Linked DNA regions of Homo sapiens: all the other regions are linked to region 3. Evidence: promoter capture Hi-C in human tissues and cell types (Jung and others, 2019). All regions are on one chromosome and are shown on one strand. Each heading gives the region's core, a stretch centred on a gene start or on the middle of the fragment in contact. The rest is flanking DNA. Distances are from core to core; before and after follow the strand shown. Region 1 has its middle 3.6 kb from the start of FCGBP. Region 2 overlaps RYR1 (ryanodine receptor 1). Region 3 holds the start of IFNL3 (interferon lambda 3). Region 4 holds the start of RASGRP4 (RAS guanyl releasing protein 4).

Region 1 (5,320 bases), core at 2,394-4,893, 690 kb after region 3:
AGGCTATGGAGTGGGACACAAGACCTCCACCGCAGCCCAGTGGGGCGTCTGCGGTTTCTCATCTGCAAAATGGGAACACCAAAACCAGCCTCTCTGGGCATCTTTACGTCCCAGAGATGTAAAAAAATTCTCAAGGACTGTAGAGCTGGGGGGCAGCCTCCTCTGGTGTGGGCGCAGGCCAGGCTGCAGGTGGGCACTGGGACTGAGGCGGTGTGTGAAGAAGGGACAATGGCCTCTGTTTCCTGGTTCCACACAGACACCCAGATTCTACTTCTGATCCCAGACACCTGCTCCTCAGTGGTGCTGGAAACAGGATATAGGTGGCCAGGGACTCCCCAGCCTGTGAGGACTGAGGAAGAGCCAGGACCTGTTGGTTTTGGAGTTTTTTTGTGTGTAGGGAGGGTTTGCTCTTAGCAGGGGCTAGCTGAACAGGTTTAGGGGACTCTGTGCCTCTCCATCACCCCAGAATTTGCCTGAGATGGGAGGTGGAGGTCTAGGTTGCACACAAGGAGCAGAAGAATGAGCTGAAAGTTGGGCTTTCTCAGCTGGAGTCAGCTCCTCTGAGGGGCTGGCCTGACCCATGCCCTGCCTGCCTTCTCCCTGACTCAGGATCTCATTGTTTGCTGGGGGAGTCTCCCCTGGGACCAGCAGCTGCAAAGCCTGGGTGCTCTCTTGGACCAACACCCTAGCAGCTGCTGCCCCTGGGGCTCCTCCTCTCTTATCACAGCAGCCTGGGCCTCTGGGAGGCCAGAGCGGGTGGGGGGCTTCTCTCTCCCTGGAGCTCCAACCAATCCCCACGCCCACCCAAGAAACGTTCCTGGAGGGAAAGATAAAGGCTAAGAGTTGACTGGGACATAAAGTCAACCAGGAGAATGAGGTGAGTAAATAGGAGACTGGCTAAAAGCCAGAGATAACAAGAAACAAGCAGGGGCAGGGGACCCACAGGAAGTGGAAGCTTTGGGAAAAGGATGCCTGGGTCCCTGAGGGGTCTAAAAGTTGGTGGAAGGGGCTGCTGGGTCCCTGAGACAGAGAAGGACTCGGAGGAGGAGACGTCGGGATTCCTAGGAGGAAACAGCAATTGCAAACCAAGATGTGAAAATTCTCTGTCTGAGGCCAGGCGCAGTGGCTCAGCTTATAATTCCAGCATTTTGGGAGGCTGAGGCAGGAGGATTGCTTAAGGCCATGAGTTTGAGACCAGCCTGGTTCAAGACCAACATAGTGAGACCCTGTATCTACAAAAAAATACAAAAATTAGCCAGGCACGGTGGTGCACGCTTGTAGTCCCAGCTACTTGGGAGGCTGAGGCAGGAGGATCACTTGAGGCCACAAGGTCAAGACCAGCCTGGGCAACATAGTGAGACCCTTTCTCTACAAAAAATATAAAAATAAACCGAGTGTGGTGGCATGCACCTGTAGTCTCCACCATTCAGGAGGCTAAGGTGGGAGGATTGCTTGATCCTAGGAGTCTGAGGCTGCAGCGAGCCGTGATCATGCCACTGCATTCTGGCCTGGGGAGAAAAAGAAAAAAGAAAATAAAATCCTCTGTGTGCCATATGCCTCTTGTAATTAGAGGCACTCAGAGACAAATGGGAGGTGAAGGGAAAGAATCAGGGTGAGTTTCATGGGTGTTTCTGGCCCTCAATTCTCTCTAAGCCTTGGGGTTTCCCCTGGTTGATCACAGAAAGAAGCTTCCTGCCTTCAAAATTCATCATCGCTCTCCACAGCCAGAGTCCCCAGAAATGGGGTGGTTGTGGTGGGAGATCTCACAAATTAATACTCTGTATGTGCCAATCCCCTTGGGTCTTCTTTCTCACTCCTTTTAAGGCCCAAGTGGTGTGTGTGTGGGTGTGTGTGTGGGTGTGTGTGTGTGTGTGTGTGTATGTGTGTGTGTACACCCCTGTGCTTTACCCTGTATTATATCAATTCTCAGGAAACCCTTTGGTGACCCGGGAAATAAACTCTGGGGACACTTCCTTATGGTCAGAGAAATCGCATCCATCCCTCCACTGGCAGCCTTGCTCTGAGCCCAAACAAGGGTATTTGTGTACCTGAGCCTTTCGGCCTCTTCCTGCTTATCTGCTTCCGTCTCCTTGCAGCATGGGCACTGGCTATACCATCCCAGACCCCTGGGCCCCTCTGACTAGTCTTGGCTTTATAGACTGGAGCACAGTGGAAGAGAATTTACTCTCTCCAGCTAAATTCAGGCTTGCGGGCAATTTCTAACTTAATTCCTTTACGCTCTGGATCCCACAATCCGACTTCCATAAGCACTGAACGTTTTGTTAAACTCTCCAATGACCCATTATTTGCCACTTGCCTCTAGTTCCTTCCCTCTAACATTTGACATTCACACTTCCTCTCTGCCTATAATAATTGAAATTCTATAGGAGATGTTCTCTGACCATAATGGAATCAGCTTGAAATGAATAACAGAAAAACAGGAAAATCTCCACTCACAAGGATATTGAGCAACTCACTTCTAAATAATCCATGGGCCAAAGAGGAAGTATCAAAAATACATAGAATTAAATGAAAATGAAAAGAAGATATTTCAAAATATGTGGGATATAGCTAAAGGGAAATTTATGGCATTAAATATTTACATTAGGAAAGAGGAAAGTTCTTAAACCAATATTCTAAGCTCTTCTTACACAATAAAGTAGTAAAAGACCAAAACAAACACAACGCAGAAGAAAGGAAATAATGAAGAGCAGAAATTAATAAAACTGAACATGAGAAAATCAATGAAACGAAAGAACTACTTCTTTGTTGTTGTTGTTGTTGCTAACAAGAGCAAGTCTTTGAATTTCCCAAATGTATTTGTGGATTTGTCTATTGTTGAATAGAGCATTCTATAAATATCAATTAGATCCTGTTGATTGATGCTGTTATTCAGTTCTTTGATATTCTCACATATTTTATCCTGGTAGTTCTATCAATTTGGTGAGACTGACGTTTTTAATTCTCCAACTATATTTGTGGACTTGTCTATTTCACCTTTCAGCTCTATCAGTTTTTGCTTCATGTACTTGAATCTCTGTTGTTTGGTACATATACCTTAGGATTGCAATGTCTTGGCAGAATGATCCTTTGTTTTTAGCAATGTTTTTCGCTCTGAAGGAAAGTATTTTCGTATTAATATAGTACTTCCTTCCTTTTAAAAATTTATATTTAAAATTATATATATATTTATTTATTTATTTATCTATTTATTTTTTAGACAGAGTCTCGCTCTGTTGCCCAAGCTGGAGTGCAAGGGCATGATCTCGGCTCACTGCAGCCTCTGCCTCCCAGGTTCACGCAATTCTCCTGCTTCAGCCTCCCAAGTAGCTGGGATTACAGGCACCTGTGACCACGCCTGGCTAATTTTTGTATTTTTGGTAGATACGGGGTTTCACCATGTTGACCAGGCTGGTCTTGAACTCCTGACCTCAAGTGATCTATCTGCCTTGGCCTCCCAAAGTGCTGGGATTACAGGGGTGAGCCACTGCACCCAGCCTAAAATTTATATTTATAATAACATAAATTAATAAAATTAATATATATTTCTATTCTTTTATTTTCAACCTACCTATGTTGTTATATTTGGAGTAAAGTTTTTTGGAGACAGTATCTAGTTGGATCATTTTTTAAATCCACTCTACCAATCTCTGGCCTTTTATTTCATGTAAGGAGATAGACTATTTACATTTAAAGTAGTTATTGATATGTTTGGACTTAAGATTAACATTTTAATATTCATTTTCCATTTGTTCCATTTCTCATTCTTATTTTTTCTTGCATTCCTGTGAGTTACATGAGCATTTTTTAGCATTCCATTTTGATTCATATTATTTTCGAATACATAATTTGTAGAATTTTCTTAGCACTTGCTCTAGTACTACAATATACATATGTAACTGATTATAATCCAACTTATGAATATTTTACCACTTTGATTGAAGTGTTGAAACTTTACATCCATATAGATCCTTTTACCCTCCCACTTATACATATGCGTGTGTGTGTATACACATATAACTATTTTAAGTATTGTCTCTTCCTATAGACATCAGATAATACTATAATTTTTGCTTCAACCAACTACGATTTTTAAAAACTCATGAGAAGGGTAATCTGCTATAGTTATCACTATTTTTGTCCATTCTGCTGTTCTTCCTTCCTTTCTAAAGTTCTGAGCCTTTTCCTGTAATCATTTGGACTTTGGAGAACTTCCTTTAATCATTCTCTAAAAATAATTCTGCTGACGGCAAAGTCTTGTAGTCTTCCTTCATCTAAAAGCTTTTTATTTCTTCTTCATACCCCGTAGATAGTTTTGCTGCATATAAGATTCTCGGCTGGGCACAGTGGCTCACGCCTGTAATCCCAGCACTTTGGGGTGCTGAGGCGGGCAGATCACAAGGTCAGGAGTTCCAGACCAGCCTGGCCAACATGGTGAAACCCTGTCTCTAATAAAAGTACAAAAATTAGCCGGGCATGGTGGCGGGCGCCTGTAGTCCCAGCTACTTGGGAGGCTGAGGCAGGAGAATCACTGGGAGGTGGAGGTTGCAGTGAGCCAAAAGCACACCACTGCATTCCAGCCTGGAGGACAGAGCGAGACTGTCTCAAAAAAAAAAAAAAAAAGATTCTCAGCAGATAGTTATTTTCTTTCAGCACTTGAAGAGTATTGCTCCAGGCTTTCTTCTCCATGGTTTTTGATAAGAAATTTTTTGTCATTTGATCAGTGTTCCCTATAGACAATTTATAATTCCTCTCTAGCTGCTTCCAAGATAGTTTCATTGTTTGCCTTTGTTTTCATAAGTTAGTTATACTGTGTTTTGGCATGGAATCCGTCAGATTTATTCTGTTTAGCTTCTTGCATCTGTAGGTTTATGTCTTTTGCCAAATTTGGGAAGGTTTGGTCATTATTCTTCAAATATTTTTCAGCCCCACTTTCTTTTCTCCTTCTGTTAATCTGATAATACAAATGTTAGCTATTTTATAATTGTCCTGCAGGTTCTCTGAGCCCTTGTTAGTCATTTTCTGTTTCTCTTTTTTAAAGTTGATTGTCTCTCTGTTTTTTGGATTGGGTAATTTTTATTGTTCTATCTTCAAGTTCACTTCTTATTTCCTTTGTCATAGTTGCTCTGCTCTTGAGCCTTTCCAGTGAGTTTTTATTTTAGTTATTGTATTTTTCAGTTTTATCATTTTCATTTGATTCTTTAAGAACATACTTTCCATTTCTTTGGTGAGATTTTCTTTTCTTTCCCATCTTTGCAAGGAATTTCTACTTGCTTGGTGAAACATTTTTATGATGGCTACTTTAGATCTTTGTCAGATA
Region 2 (3,601 bases), core at 966-3,465, 720 kb before region 3:
GCCAGCCGGCGTGGATGTGGCTCTGCCCAAAAGCTTGTCATCAGGGCTTCTCGCTGGCGTGACTGGGGTGGCCCTGGCCCCGGGTCTGCACCCAAGGCTCCAGAACACGGCTGTGGGACTCTGTGCCCTGTGTCTCTGCTTCCAGATCTTTCTGGATGTCTCTTGCATCTTTGGTCTTCCTGTCTCCTTGTCTTTTTCAGTCTCTCAGTGTCTTTTTCTTGCAACTTCTCTTGTCGCTTGAACTCTTTGTGGACCTGCATCTTTGTTTCATTCTTGAGAACTTGGTTTTGGGATGTGAAGTGTGGGGTTGTGCATGCTGTGGAGGGGGTATTGTACTGGGGTTCCTAGGGGATTCTGGAAGAGGACTGCTAGAAGTTGAGACAGGCCCAGAACGGGGGAAAATCTGGATGGGCCTGGGTTAGAAATTGGAGCCAGGCAAGCATGGTGGTATGTGCCTGTAGTCCCAGCTACTTGGGAGGCTGAGGCAGGAGGATCACTTGAAGCCAAGAGTTCAAGTCCAGCCTGGGCAACATGGCAAGACACCATCTCTAAAAATAAATTTGTTTAAAAAACAAGAAACTGGGAATTTGGGTTGTGGACTTGGGTCTGGAGGGTCTCCGGTCATGGCTGTGGGCCTGAAGTGTAGAGTCAGCAAGTCTGGGGTGGAAATTGAGGTGTCGTCGGCAGTTGGGGAGGGAGTGCCTGGTGTCCAGACTGGGGCCTGGGGTGTGGATGATGGCCGCGGGTTGGGGCTGAGGCATGGGATTGGGGCTTGGGCTGGTGCTGAGCCCTGTGTCCCCACAGTCCGGTGGCTCGGACCAGGAACGCACCAAGAAGAAGCGCCGGGGGGACCGGTACTCTGTGCAGACGTCACTGATCGTGGCCACACTGAAGAAGATGCTGCCCATCGGCCTGAATATGTGTGCGCCCACCGACCAAGACCTCATCACGCTGGCCAAGACCCGTTACGCCCTGGTGCCTGCCCAGCCCCGTCCTCGGAACCTTCCAGGATGCCGCCCAGCACCCACTGAACCCCTGGGACCTTAGGGAACAACCACAATGCCACTGAGCCCCCCAGGTCCCTGGGAGCCTTCCCTTCAGACCCCACTGAGTTCTTTTCCGGGATGCTGAGGACTCACTGTGCCCCTGGGATGCCCTGAGGACCCCGTTCAAGATATTGCCAGGGCACCACAGACCTAAGAGCCCTCACTGAAACCTAGAAAAGCTCTAGGACCCCTGGGACCCGCATGAGGACTGCAGGACCCCACTGCCCCCCCACCGGACCATGCCAAACCTGCTGAGACCCTGAGAGTCCCCCCAACAAGATGAGCCCCTGAGATCCTCTGAACCCTCCACCAAGGCCCCTTCAAGCCCCTTGGGACCTACTGAGACCCTCATGACCCCTCCTTCCCTCCCTGCCAAGACTGAACCTCTGGGTTCCTGCTGAGCCCTTGGCTCACCATCCCTTTCCTTCAGGACCCTGCTGACACCTGGGCCCTGTTGAAGCCCAACTAAGCCCCCAAGACTCTCAGGGGCTCAGGGAGCCCTGCGACCCTGCATAACTCCCCAGGATCCATGAACCCCAAGCCCGGGACTGTACCCAAACCTCTGAGGTCTCAACTGTCCTGGAGACCAAAATACCCGGGCTGTAGAACCTCTTAAGCTTGCTGGGATATCAAGGAGGCCTCCCGGGACCCCACTTACCCCTTGTGTGGGACAACAAGGACAATCTCCCTCCTCTCCGATCCTTTCCAGCTTCAGGGACTCTAAGGAACCCTCCCAGGATTCTGCCCCAAGACCCCTATAGCCCTCCCCCCAGGACCACACCAACACCCTGACAACCTACTAACCCCCTGGACCCCTAAAGACCACCGACTTCTCCCCTGCTACCACCAGGACACCCCTTCCCTCAGAACCTCAGGCACCTCCCAGGACTGCTGAGTCCTGCCAGGACGCCAGAGAGCCCTCCAGGGCTCCATGGACCCCTCACCTTGGTCCTTGAGGGCTCCCCGTCCTAGAACCCCAGTGAACCCCCACCCTGCTGATGCCCCCTTTGGCCCCTGTGTAACCAGTGACTCCGTTGACCTACGTGATCCCCCATGACCTCTGCTGACCCCTTCTGATCTTCAAAGACTCCCTGCCCCACTCTGACCCCCCAGTCATCCCTCTTTGGCCATATTTGACCTTTGATGAGATCCTCTTGTCACCCTTTGCCTCTTCCCAGACCTCCACGAGGCCCCTCGAATCCTTACTGTATCTTCAAGGTGACTCTGTGACCCTCCGGCCCCTCTAGGACCCCTTCTGACCCCGTCAACCTCTGCATCCTTTTGTTTCTCTCAGACCCCCACCCCCACCCCAGAAAAACCTCTTCAGTTCCTGGGGTGCTGGGCCTGGAAGGAAAGGGTTGTGGGTCAGGAAGGAGGATGGGACCTCCAGAGTGACCCAGCCTGGCTCTGTCTCCCCAGAAAGACACAGATGAGGAGGTCCGGGAATTTCTGCACAACAACCTTCACCTTCAGGGAAAGGTATGCCTCCTTCCTCTGCAAGCAAAAGAAGCAAGTCAGAAAGTAACCACAATATTAGTGAAGGTTTGAGCATTTACCAAAGACCAGGCATTGAAGAAAGACCTCAAAGGTCAGGAGTTTGAGACCAGCCTGGCCAATGTGGCGAAACCATGTTTCTACTAAAAATACAACAATTAGGCCGGGCACAATGGCTCATGCCTGTAATCCCAACACTTTGGAAGGCCAAGGCGGGCAGATCACCTGAGGTTAGGAGTTCGAGACCAGCCTGGCCAACGTGGTGAAACCCCGTCTCTACTAAAAGTACAAAATTAGCTGGGTGTGATGGCGGGTGCCTGTAGTCCCGGCTACTCAGGAGGCTGAAGCAGGAGAATCGCTTGAGCCCAGGAGGCAGAGGTTGCAGTGAGCTGAGATCGCACCACTGCACTCCAGCCTGGGTGATGGGGCGAGGCTCCGTCTCAAAACAAAAAGATGAAGAAGAAGAAAGGCCTCAACATGCACTCACCCATTGAGTCCTCCCAAAAACGGAAAGGGGACATCCGGCGGACACTGTGGGAAGGGTCCCTCACGCCGGCCACTCCTTCTTCCTCCCTTCAGGTCGAAGGCTCCCCGTCTCTGCGCTGGCAGATGGCTCTGTACCGGGGCGTCCCGGGTCGCGAGGAGGACGCCGATGACCCCGAGAAAATCGTGCGCAGAGTCCAGGAAGTGTCAGCCGTGCTCTACTACCTGGACCAGGTGGGTGGGGCCGGAGGGGTCTTTCTACTGGGTCTCTGGGCGGAGCCTGGCGGGGGGAGGGGCTTCAAGGATGTGGGTGGGGTCTGGAGATGACTATTAAGTTTTGGGGCAGGGCAGGAGGTGGAGCCTCGAGTTTAAGGCGAGGCTTAGAATGGATCGGGGGAGGGGTCTGCTGCTTAATCTTGCATCTGGGGGCGGGACAGGGAAGGGGCAGATCTTTAGGTCTAGGGGTGGGGCCTAGAGGAGATGCGTTGAGTTTGTGGGCAGGGCCTTGGGTGGGTCGTAGAATTGGTCGTGGCCTGGCTCGTGGTCCTGGCTCTGTGGGACCTGGCCTAGGATGGAAA
Region 3 (5,250 bases), core at 2,310-4,809:
ACTCAGGAGGCTGAGGTGGGAGGATCACTTGAGCCTAGGAGGTCGAGGCTGCAATGAGCTATGATCATGCCAGTGCCCTCCAGCCAGGGTGACAGAGCAAGGTCCTGTCTCAAAAAAAAAAAAATAGAATAAATAAATAATAAAATTGCACTACTGAACAATGTGCTTTAGAAAGGATAAGATGGTACATTTTGTGGGTTTCCCACAATTAAAAAAAATATTTAAATTACCTGAACAAAAAGAACAAAACAAAATGCATGCACATTTCTATTCCTACAGTTCTGACAGTCAAGATGTCAGCAGAGCGGGTTCCTTCTGGAAGCAGCAGGGGAGATCTCTCTCCTTTCTCAGCCTCTGGGGGTGTCCAGCATCCCTTGACCCCGGTTCCCTTCCTGACATCACTCCAATGTCCTGTTTCTGTGGTTACATCTTCCGCTAATGATGCTGACCCCGGCCTCCTTCTTAGAAGGACTTTTGTGATGACATTGGGTCCAGGTGGACAACCCAGGATAACGCCCCCATCCCAAACCCTTAACTTACTCACATCTGCAGAGTCCCTCGTGCCATGGAACATAACATATTCCCAGGTCCAGGAATCAGGAACATCTCTGGGGACCAGTCTTGCATCTAGCACGAATCCATTACAAATGCAGCAACACACCACAGCAGTGTTAGCAGAACTTGTGACTGTTACCAAAAGAAATCACAGGCATTTCCTATCACGTTATCTTCCAGCAGGCACCTTGAAATGTCATTTATGCTCATCTCTGCTTCTAAGTCACAGTGGTTATTAAAGCTGCCACAGGTGATTTTTTACTTAATGCATTCATGAAGAAGCACATGAATTGCTATGTCACAGTGTGAAAAAATATTTTGATCACTGTATTACAATCAGAGTTGGATTCCTTTGTCCTGCACGTGTTCTTTCCTTCTGAGAAGGGTCCGTAGGCTTTTCAAGGCTGCCGTGAGGTCCGGTGGGTGAAGATGATGAGGGAGCCCTGTCCCGGGGACTGTGGAGCACAGAACTGCCAGGAACCAGGGCCCCTGGATGACTGAGTGGGGCCATCCTGCCAGGGGGAGCGCTCACCTTGGGAGGAGGAGCTGGTGGAGAATGACACTCTGTGGTTTGTAATTCATGATCACTGTATTTGGGGGACTCTTTGTTCCAGCAGCTCAGCCAACTCTACTCAGCAGGGGTCCCTGATCCAAGTTGTCCTCCTCATCTGTAGGGGCTTATCCAGGGTTAGTGAGACCTCATGTTTGCTTATACAATTCAGGGGCTTCTTGGAAAGAGAATGGGCTGGACCCGGTGACTCAAGCCTGTAATCCCAGTTCGGGGAGGGGCTGGAGAGGGTGGAGGATGGTGCCGAGGAGAGAGAATCACTTGAGCCCAGGAGTTTGAGGCTACAGTGAGATGTGATCACGCAAGAGACAGGATCTTGCTGTTGCTCAGGCTGGTCGTGAACTCCTGACCTCAAACAGTCCTCCCATCTCAGCTTCCACCAGTAGCTGGGATTATGGGCTTGTGCCACCACACCCAGCCAATTCTCTAATTTTTTATAGAGACAGGATCTTGCTATGTTGCCCAGGCTGGTCTGGGCTCAAGTGATCCTCCCAACTCAGCCACCCAAAGTGCTGTGATTACAGGCTTGAGCAATCACATCCAGGCTCTAAATTAATTTTAAAGATGCTTCATTTCACCCAATACATCCAAAGTGCTATCATTTCAACATCTAATGAATATATAAATTATAATTAAGCTGTTTTACTTTTTTTTTTTTCTCCACAGTAAATCTTCAAATTCTGGGGTATGTTTTACACTCACTGAAAAAATGAGGTTGCACCACCTACATTCCAGGTGCTCGATAGTGACATGTGACCTGGGGACCCCAGTGGACAGCACAGACTCAATGAACCTGCTGTTCTAGATGCTACTTTTAGGGTAATTTGTTATGGCAGCAATGCAAAGGAAATACACACCAACGCACACACAGTCCCACGTCATGGGTGTCTTTTCCTCATTGTTTATTTCAACAAGGATTTCAAAAAGTAGAAAAATAAACATTTTCCTGGAGGTGAGTTGGATTTACATACACAAATACATAAATAGCGACTGGGTGACAATAAATTAAGCCAAGTGGCTAATTTATAAATAAAATCTCAGGTTGCATGACTGGCGGAAGGGTCAGACACACAGGTCCCCGCTGGCAACACAATTCAGGTCTCGCGTGAGGAGGCGGAAGAGGTTGAAGGTGACAGAGGCCTCGAGGCAGCCAGGGGACTCCTGTAGGGAGGAGGGGATGGGTCAGGGGCTGTCTGGGTTCTGGGCTCCCAGTGGCTCCCCAGACCTCAGTCCCTCTCTTCCCGGGTCACTCACCTTTTTTGGGGCCTCCTGGAGCCGGTGCAGCCAATGGTGGAGGCGGCCCCGGGTCCTGGGCCCTGCCGTGGGCTGAGGCTGGATCTGTGGGCAGAGGAGGGCGGTGTGTGAGCCGGGGCCTTGGCCAGGGGAAGGACGCTGCTCAGAGCTCACAGACCTGGGTGCCCGGGCCCTGACGACTCACACAGGCCCGGAGCTGGGAGAGGATATGGTGCAGGGTGTGAAGGGGCTGGTCCAAGACATCCCCCAGGGCTGGGTCAGTGTCAGCGGTGGCCTCCAGAACCTTCAGCGTCAGGGCCAGCTCAGCCTCCAAAGCCACGGGGCGCTCCCTCACCTGAGGAGAGGTGAGAAAGAGCAGGTGAGGGGGGAGGTGAGGGGAACAGGTTGGGGGAGGAGGATAGAGAGGAACAAGTGAAGGTGACAGGCACAGGGGAGAGGGCACAGCCAGTGTGGTCAGGTAGGAGCAGAGGGAAGGGGTAGCAGGTGTGGGGAGAGGAGAGAGGGACAATGGAGAAGGAGAAGGTGAAGGGGCCACTACAGAGCCAGGTGAGCAGGGCTGGGAGGGCAGGGGTGGGCCTGACTCCCCCTCTCACCTGCAGCTGCCTCAGGTCCCAGGTCCTGGGGAAGAGGCGGGAGCGGCACTTGCAGTCCTTCAGCAGAAGCGACTCTTCCTAGACAGCAAAGGCACAGGTTAGCCCCAGCAGGAGGGGTGGAGGTTAGACCACTCTGATGGGATTGGAGGATGGCTGACAACAGGATAGGGGAGGTTAACTGCTGGGAGGATGGTAGAGGACCCTCTTCTTCAGGAAAACATGAGTCAGTCCCTGCAGTAGGAGCATGAGATAGCCCACTGCAGGGAGGGTGGAGGCTAGCCCAGTGAAGGAAGCTGGGAGTGGGAAAGCATGGTGACCCTTGGAGTGCGGGTGGAGGCTAGTCCATGGCAGGAGGGCAGGGGGAGACTCACTAAGGCATCTTTGGCCCTCTTAAAGGCCTGCAGCTCCTGTGGAGACAGGGACTTGAACTGGGCTATGTGGCAGCCCCTTGCATCCGGGAGAGCCCCGCGGAGCCTGGCGACAGGAACTGCTCCAGTCACGGTCAGCACTGCGGCCATCAGCACCAGCACTGGCATGCAGTCCCCGGTCATGTCTGTGTCACAGAGAGAAAGGGAGCTGAGGGAATGCAGAGGCTGCCCACTGAGGGCAGGGGCTGCAGGAGCTGAGCACGGACAGAGATGTGGGACTCACCTAGTTTCATTCCTGATCTCTGGTCTTTGTCAGCAGAAGAAACACTCTGAGGCTGTCACCCAGGGTCTGTTTGGGTCTTGTCTGGAGTCTCTGTTCTTTTCAGTCCCCTCTTCTGGATCTCAGACTGTGTCCTGGCTTTGACTCTTTCTGTCAGTTTTGAGCTCTGTCTGGGATGTAATTCCTGCCTGAGCTCCATGGGGCAGCTTTTATCCCTGACAGAAGGGCAGTCCCAGCTGATGTAGGAAAAGTGAAAACACAGCCTCAGGTAAGACACCGGCCACCAGGGGAGCCCCAGGCTGGGAAAGCCCAGAGCAGGGCAGGGCTAGTGAGCCAGATGAGCAGCTGGAGGGAAAGAGAAACTGATGGAGACTCAGGGGTAACCTACAGGAAGGTATGTTCCCAAGAGGATTCCACCTGCTCTGGTTTTGTTGTTGTTTAAGACAGGGTCTCACTCTGTCACTGCAGTGCAATGGCATGATCACAGCTCACTGCAGCCTCAAACTCCTGGGCTCAAGCCATCCTCCTCACCCAGCCTATTAAAGTGCTGAGATTACAGGCCTGAGCCACCACTCCTGGCATATATATATATATATATATATATATATTTTGAGACAGGGTCTTGTTCGGTCACCCAGGCTGGAGTGCAGTGCAAAATCTTGGCTAACTGCAACCTCCGCCTCCTGGGTTCAAGCAATTCTCTTGCCTTAGCCTCCCAAGTAGCTGAGATTACAGATTTGTGCCACCATTCCCAGCTAATTTTTATATTTTTAGTAGAGATGGCGTTTCACCATGTTGGCAAGGCTGGTCTCAAATTCCTGATGTCAAGTCATCTCTCTGTCTAGGCCTCCCAAATTGCTGGGATTTCAGTGTGAGCCACCATGCCCAGAGGCCAATATTTCTTAATTGCCCAGGCAAGGAAGGACTCAGGAATATGAGGCTCTGCTCAAGAATTGAGGTGTGACGAAGGACTTGAAGGACACCACGTGGGTGCCGTCTTTCTTAGGGAAGTTCAGGCAGTGGTGAAGAGCATGGGTCTTGGAGATGAAGGGTCTGGGGTTCAAACCTGGTTCTGACCCTCACTAGCCGTGTGACCTTGGCAAGGAGGGGTGCATTCAGCAACGCAGATTGCTAATGCACAGATTTGGAGAAAAAATTAATAACACAATTGTTTGTGTATTTATGTGAGTGATTATTTAATAGAATCCACTCATTAAGACCATACTAGGACCTCAGCTGGAGAGTTTAAAACGTGATCTCAACGGACACTACTCCTCCACAAGGCAAGTATGCTAACCCATCCTATAGGTGAGGAAACAGAGGCTCAGAAAAGTAATTTGCCCTGAATTCCACTGTAATTAACTGGCAGGGTCAGAACTGAAACTCAGGCCACCTGAGTCCCTGGCTCGGCCTCTTTTTTTGCTGTAAGGTGCACCTCACAATCATCATACGGAAAACAACCAATGCGATCAAAACACTCTTTGATAACTGGCAATAAATTTAAACCGGGAGACAGAATAGCAAATGCACAGGAACTTCACAAATACAAACACACGTAAGGGAATCCAAAGAACCACAGTCGGTTAAGGACCCTTGGGCCTTTCACTACCAAATCCCTCATGGATTGGTGTC
Region 4 (5,861 bases), core at 2,364-4,863, 820 kb before region 3:
TATGATGCCTGATGATCTAGGCTGCGTGCTGTTTATGATGCCTGATGCCTAATGCCTGATGATCTGTCACTGTCTCTCATCACCCCCAGATGGGAGCATCCAGTTGCAGGAAAACAAGCTCAGGGCTCCCACTGATTCTCCATTATGGTGAGCTGCGTAACTATTTCATTATATATTACAATGTAATAATAATAAAAATAAAGCACAGGATACATGTAATTAACTTGAATCATCCCCACACCATCCCCACCCCCTTCCACAAAACTGGTCCCTGATGCCAAAAAGCCTGGGGACCGCCGCTCAGGACTGCTCTGAATCTCCCAGGGAATCACAGTAGAAGACCCCTGGGACCACTCAAGACCCCTCAGGGAATCATAAGAACTCCTTCCCCAGGCATTGCCCCCAACTTCCTCTTGACTGCTTCCAGGGCATCCTGGAAGAGACTTCCTTTTGGCAGATCCCAGGATTACTCCTGGCCTACCAGGGACTCGGGAGAAGACCCCTGGAATCTCTTCTGTCCTCCCCAGGCAGAGGCATGGGAGGACCTGCCTTCAGGAATTGCCTCCTCAGGGCTCCCGTTTGGTCTCTAACACCCTCCCCTCCTTCCTCCCACAGCCCTCAAGAGAGCAAGGCTCTTGGACCAGTGTGATGGCTCACGCCTGTAATCCCAAAGCTTTGGGAGGCCAAGGTGGGTGGATCACTTGAGGCCAGGAGTTCGAGACCACCCCGGCCAACATGGTGAAACCCCCATCGCTACTAAAAATGCAAAAATTGGTCAGGCGTGATGGCGGGCGCCTGTAATCCCAGCTACTCAGGAGGCTGAGGCAGGAGGGTCGCTTGAACCCAGGAGGTGGAGGCTGCAGTGAGCCGGAACTGCATCACTGTGCTCCAACCTGGGTGACAGAGTGATTTCTGTTTCAAAAATAATAATAAAAAAATTAAAAAGAGAGGCCAGTCACAGTGGCTCACGCCTGTAGTCCCAGCACTTTGGGAGGCTGAGGTGGGTGGATCACTTGAGGTCAGGAGTTCGAGACCAGCCTGGCCAACATGGTGAAACCCCATCTCTATTAAAAATACAAAAATTAGCCAGGCGTGGTGGTGGGCTCCTGTAATCCCAGCTACTCAGGAGGCTGAGGCAGAAGACTTGCTTGAACCCAGGAGGCGGAGGTTGCAGTGAGCCGAGATCGTGCCACTGCACTCCAGCCTGGGCAACAGAGCGAGTCTTAGTCTCAAAATAATAATAATAATAATAGTAATAATAGTAATAATAATTCTCCCTCTGCCTGGTGCCTCCCAGAGGCTGCTGTTCCTGATAGGGGAAGAGGGTAATGGAGAGACAAGGATGGTGGGAGCAGGGAGGCTGCTGAATCCAAGCTTCAGACGAAAGTAGAATCCAGAAATTTTTGCCAGCTGTTGTGACTTCGTGTTAGTCACTTAATTTCTCTGGGGCTCAATTTCCTCGAAGGAAAAATGAGGATAGTCCTTGGACCTTCTCCAGGGATTTCTTTTTTCTTTCTTTCTTTCTTTTTTTGGAGACAGGGTCTCACTCTGTCACCCAGGCTGGAGTGCAGTGGTGCGATCTCAGCTCACTGCAACCTCCACCTCCCGGGTTCAAGCAATTCTCCTGCCTCAGCCTCCCAAGTAGTTGGGACTACAGGCACGTGCCACCACGCCGAGCTAATTTTTGTATTTTTAGTAGAAATGGGGTTTCACCATGTTGGCCAGGCTGGTTTCAAACTCCTGGGCCCAACTGATCCTCCCACCTTTGCCTCTGAAAGTGCTGGGATTACAGGTGTGAGCCATCACGCCAGGCTCCCACCTCTACCCTTTTTCAGACAGGGTCTTGCTCTGTCTCCCAGGCTGGAGCACAGTTGTGCAATCAAAGCTCATTGTAACCTTGAACTCCTGGACTCGAGTGATCCTCCTGCCTTAGTCTCCCAGGTAGCTGGGACTACAGGTGTGCACGACCATACCCAGCTAATTTTGTGTGTGTGTTTGGGTGTGTGTCAATGGGGGGGGGGGTCTCACTATATTTCTCAGGCTGGTCTAGAACTCCTGGCTTCAAGTTCTCCTTGTCTTATCCTCCCAAAGTGCTGGGATTAGAGGCATGAGCCATCGTTACTAGAAGGGACATTTTAAAGTATTATATATGTCCTAGGCTAAGGAAGGAGCATTCTAACTAAGTCAGCATTTCCCTAAGTGTGGGCACCCAGCTAGTACCAAAAGCATCACCTGGGAACTGGATATCAATACAGATTCTCAGGTCCCAACCCAGACCTACAAAATCAAACACTTTAAGGCTAAGGGTGGTGGCTCATGCCTCTAATCCCAGCACTTTGGGAGGCCGAGGTGGGTGGATCACGAGGTCAAGAGATCGAGACCATCCTGCCCAACATGGTGAAACCCCATCTCTACTAAAAATACAAAAAAGTAGCTGGGTGTGGTGGTGCACACCTGTAGTCCCAGCTACTTGGGAGGCTGAGGCAGGATGATCGCTTGAACCCGGGAGGCAGAGGTTGCAGTGAGCCAAGATTGTGCCACTGCACTCCAGCCTGGCGGCAGAGCGAGACTCCGTCTCAAAAAAAAAAAACAAAAAAAAAAAAACCAAACACTTTAAAGGTAAGCCCAGCAACCTGTATTTTACAAGCCCTCCAGACAGTTCTGAGGCTCGCTCCAGTTTGAGAACCACTGGTCTAGAGTGTCTCATTGAGTACTTACAGGCCTCTCCGAGGTAGAGGATATGATTGTTCTACTGACAGAAGAAAAACCCGAGACACAGAGCAGTTAAGTGACTTACCTAAGGTCACACAGCTAGGAAATTAGGCAGCCAGGAGTCTACCACTAAACTGCTGGGTGGGGAGGAAAGCCCTTTGCCCATCAGAGTGGTGCTGGGGGTGGCAGGAGGAGTTACCCAGGCTAGGGAGCCACCCACCATCTGCCTCTGTGGGGACAGAAGGGCCAGCTTGCCCAGGAGATGAAGCCCATTCCAGAACCGGCCGCACAGCCAGCCACTAGGCCCTGTCCTGCAGCCCCCTGTAGGGGTCTGGAACAGCCAGGAGTGGTTTAAGAGGCAGGGGAGTCGCCTTGCCCTGTGCCACACTCCCCTCTCCTGGGCCAGGCCCTGCAGGAGCCTGGAGTTTCCAGTCCACGGGGATGGGGAACCAGGAAGCCCCCAGGGAGGGCAGAGACACTCAGCCCAGGCCAGGGATGGAGGTGGGGTGATGAGGAGTGGAAAAGGGGCACGGAGCAGCTCAAACTCCAGGGACAACACGGTACAGATGCCACATACAAGCGACTGCAGCCGTAGCTGGCTCCAGACTCCCTGAAGCATCCACCTGGCCCCCCTGCGCCTGATCCCAAAGAAGTCAGGAATCCTGCCACCCTGGCGAGTGATCTCCCCAGCCCTCCCATGCAGAGGGAGGCCTCAGGGTGCTGCCGGGCTCCCTGGGGAGGGTCCTCTCACCTCTTACTGTCTTTTCTGTTCATGCTTCCCGCGTGGGGTGAGGAGGCCGGGGGTCTTGCAAGAGTAGGGCTCAGCTCCTCCCCTTGCCCAGGACTCCAGCTTCTCAGCCCCTAGGGAGCTGGGGCCTCCTCGGTGCTTGGGAAGGAAAGAGGAACTGCCCCTCCCCACCCACCCTCAGGCCAGGGGGAAGGAAGAGGCTGGGGAGAGACCGAAGGCCCCCCTCCCCCACACGGGGATCCCTTCTGCTGAGGTTTCCGGCATCGCTGGCTCTCCCACCCTCAAGCTCCCCGGCGGGCTCTCTATCTCCCCCATCTTTCGGTGTCGAGACCCGTCACTGTCATACTTCAATAAAAGAAGGGGCTTTTCTTTTTAAAGCATGACTGATATTTATGTAAAAACACACACACTCACTCAAAAAGATAAGTCTGTCTGTCTAGAAGGACATATTCATATATATAATTCATGAAGGTTTGAATGGAAACTCACAAGACATAGTATTTTGTATATTTCTTCATAGGCGTCTCTTATTCCTAGTTTAAGTGATACCATTTGTACCCTGGAAAACATTTTCACTTTCTGACTTTATTGTAACAAACCTCCACATAGCACCTACTGTGTACCACACACTGCTGTAAGGACTTTAAAAATATTAACTCATTTAATCCTCACACAATCCACTGTTACCTTAAAAAAAATTACATACCGGACCAGGCACGGGGGCTCACAGGGGCTCACGCCTGTCATCCAGCACTTTGGGAGGCCAAGGCAGGCGGATCGCTTGAGTCTAAGAGTTTGAGACCAGCTTGAACAACGTGACAAAACCCCGTCTCTACAAAAAATGTAAAACGTTAGGCCGGTGTGGTGGCTCACTCCTGCAATCCCAGCACTTTGGGAGGCCGAGGTGGGCGGATCACCTGAGGTTGGGAGTTTAAGACCAGCCTGAGCAACATGGAGAAACCCCGTCTCTACTAAAAATACAAAATTAGCCAGGCGTTGTGGCACATGCCTGTAATCCCAGCTACTCGGCAGGCTGAGGCAGGAGAATTGCTTGAACCCAGGAGGCGGAGGTTGCCGTGAGCCGAGATCGCGCCATTGCACTCCAGCCTGGGCAACAGGAGCGAAACTCTGTCTCAAAAAAAAAAAGTTAGCTGAGCGTAGTGATGCACACTTGTAGTCCCAGCTACTCAGGAGGCTGAGGCTAGAAGATTGCTTGAGCCCAAGGAGGTCGAGGCTGCAGTGAACCATGATGGTGCCACTGCACTTCAGTCTGCGTGGCAGAGCCAGACCCTGTCTCAAAAAACAAAAAACAAAAAAAAAAAACACACACACACATCAAAAAACATTAGAGATGGAGGTAAAGCCTTGGGGAAGCCCCTCCCCATCCCCTGCCTTTCTTAAGCAGGGTGTGACCAATATGACACGTTGTCGAGTTTCGTCCAAACTGCTGTCTGTGCGTTTAAGCACATCATATAAACATGTGCTCCTAGAAACAGACTTTTCTTTTGAGTGTGCATTTTTTTCTTTTTACCTAAATGTGTCATGCTCGACACTTTTTTTTAAATTGAAGTACAAAAAAGATCACGAATCATTAAGTATTTAGGTTGATGAAATGTCACCAACTGAGCAAACCTGTGTGACATTCATACAAATCCAGACACAGAACATTCTCACCCTCCACAAGCCCCCTGTCTTTCTTCCCAGCACGAATTCCCACAGATCCCCACTCGCCCGAAGTCTGGCGCAGTAGTTTTGTCTTGTTTTGAGCTGGATAAAAATGGACTCCTGTATTGAATCTGGGTTCTTTCTCTCCACGTCTTGTCTTTGCAGTTCTTCCATGTTATCATATTTGGTTATAATTTATTCCTTTTTTTGGCCGGGCGCGGTGGCTCACGCCTGTAATCCCAGCACTTTGGGAGGCTGAGATGGGCAGATCACTTGAGGTCAGGAGTTCGAGACCCGTCTGGCCAACATGGTGAAACTCCCATCTCTACTACAAATACAAAAATGAGCCAGGTGTGGTGGTGCGTGCCTGTAATCCCAGCTACTTGGGAGGCTGAGGCAGGAGAATCGCTTGAACCCGGGAGGAGGAGGTTGTAGCGAGCCGAGATTGCACCACTGCACTTCAGCTTGGGCGACAGAGCGAGACTCTGTCTCAAAATAATAATAATAATAATAATAATAATAATTCCATATAGTCTTTCATTATGTGACAATTCCATGACTTATATATATATATTTATTTATTTAGAGATAGGTGTTGTGGATAGTGACTAAGCGGGCTGGTGGCATGCTAACTTCTATTTTTTTTTTTTATTTTTGAGACAGAGTCCTGCTCTGTCGCCCAGTCTGGAGTGCAGTGGCGTGATCTCAGCTCACTGCAACCTCTGCGATTGAAGCG

The links. The method cuts DNA at HindIII sites, captures the fragments that hold promoters and counts their contacts. A contact is called where the count stands out against the background at its distance.
Region 1: a contact is called between a fragment that was not itself captured here and the fragment with the promoter of IFNL3 in region 3, in 1 of the 25 tissues and cell types used here (stomach).
Region 2: a fragment that was not itself captured here is called in contact with the fragment with the promoter of IFNL3 in region 3 in 1 of the 25 tissues and cell types used here (mesenchymal stem cells).
Region 4: a contact is called between the fragment with the promoter of RASGRP4 here and the fragment with the promoter of IFNL3 in region 3, in 3 of the 25 tissues and cell types used here (dorsolateral prefrontal cortex, mesenchymal stem cells and stomach).

What each region holds. Positions count from the first base shown.
Region 1 is chr19:39,935,532-39,940,851 of GRCh38, forward strand. No RefSeq gene overlaps it. Among named protein-coding and RNA genes, the nearest start is that of FCGBP, 3.6 kb to the left of the region's middle. The HindIII fragment of the contact is 4,644 bases long and covers 1,322-5,320 here.
Region 2 is chr19:38,524,528-38,528,128 of GRCh38, forward strand. It overlaps RYR1 (ryanodine receptor 1), which reads left to right. Exons shown (of 106, transcript NM_000540.3): 71 at 805-975; 72 at 2,466-2,525; 73 at 3,120-3,257. Among named protein-coding and RNA genes, the nearest start is that of MAP4K1-AS1, 70 kb to the right of the region's middle. The HindIII fragment of the contact is 4,595 bases long and covers 1-3,601 here.
Region 3 is chr19:39,241,447-39,246,696 of GRCh38, forward strand. IFNL3 (interferon lambda 3) reads right to left here and starts at 3,560. Exons shown (of 5, transcript NM_172139.4): 1 at 3,342-3,560; 2 at 2,971-3,048; 3 at 2,562-2,711; 4 at 2,378-2,461; 5 at 2,107-2,284. The coding sequence starts at 3,521. The coding sequence ends at 2,186. It also overlaps the pseudogene IFNL4. The HindIII fragment of the contact is 34,684 bases long and covers 1-5,250 here.
Region 4 is chr19:38,422,606-38,428,466 of GRCh38, forward strand. It overlaps RASGRP4 (RAS guanyl releasing protein 4), which reads right to left and starts at 3,614. Exons shown (of 17, transcript NM_170604.3): 1 at 3,464-3,614. The coding sequence starts at 3,486. RefSeq lists a silencer at 3,490-3,549 and an enhancer at 4,442-4,956. The HindIII fragment of the contact is 24,204 bases long and covers 1,024-5,861 here.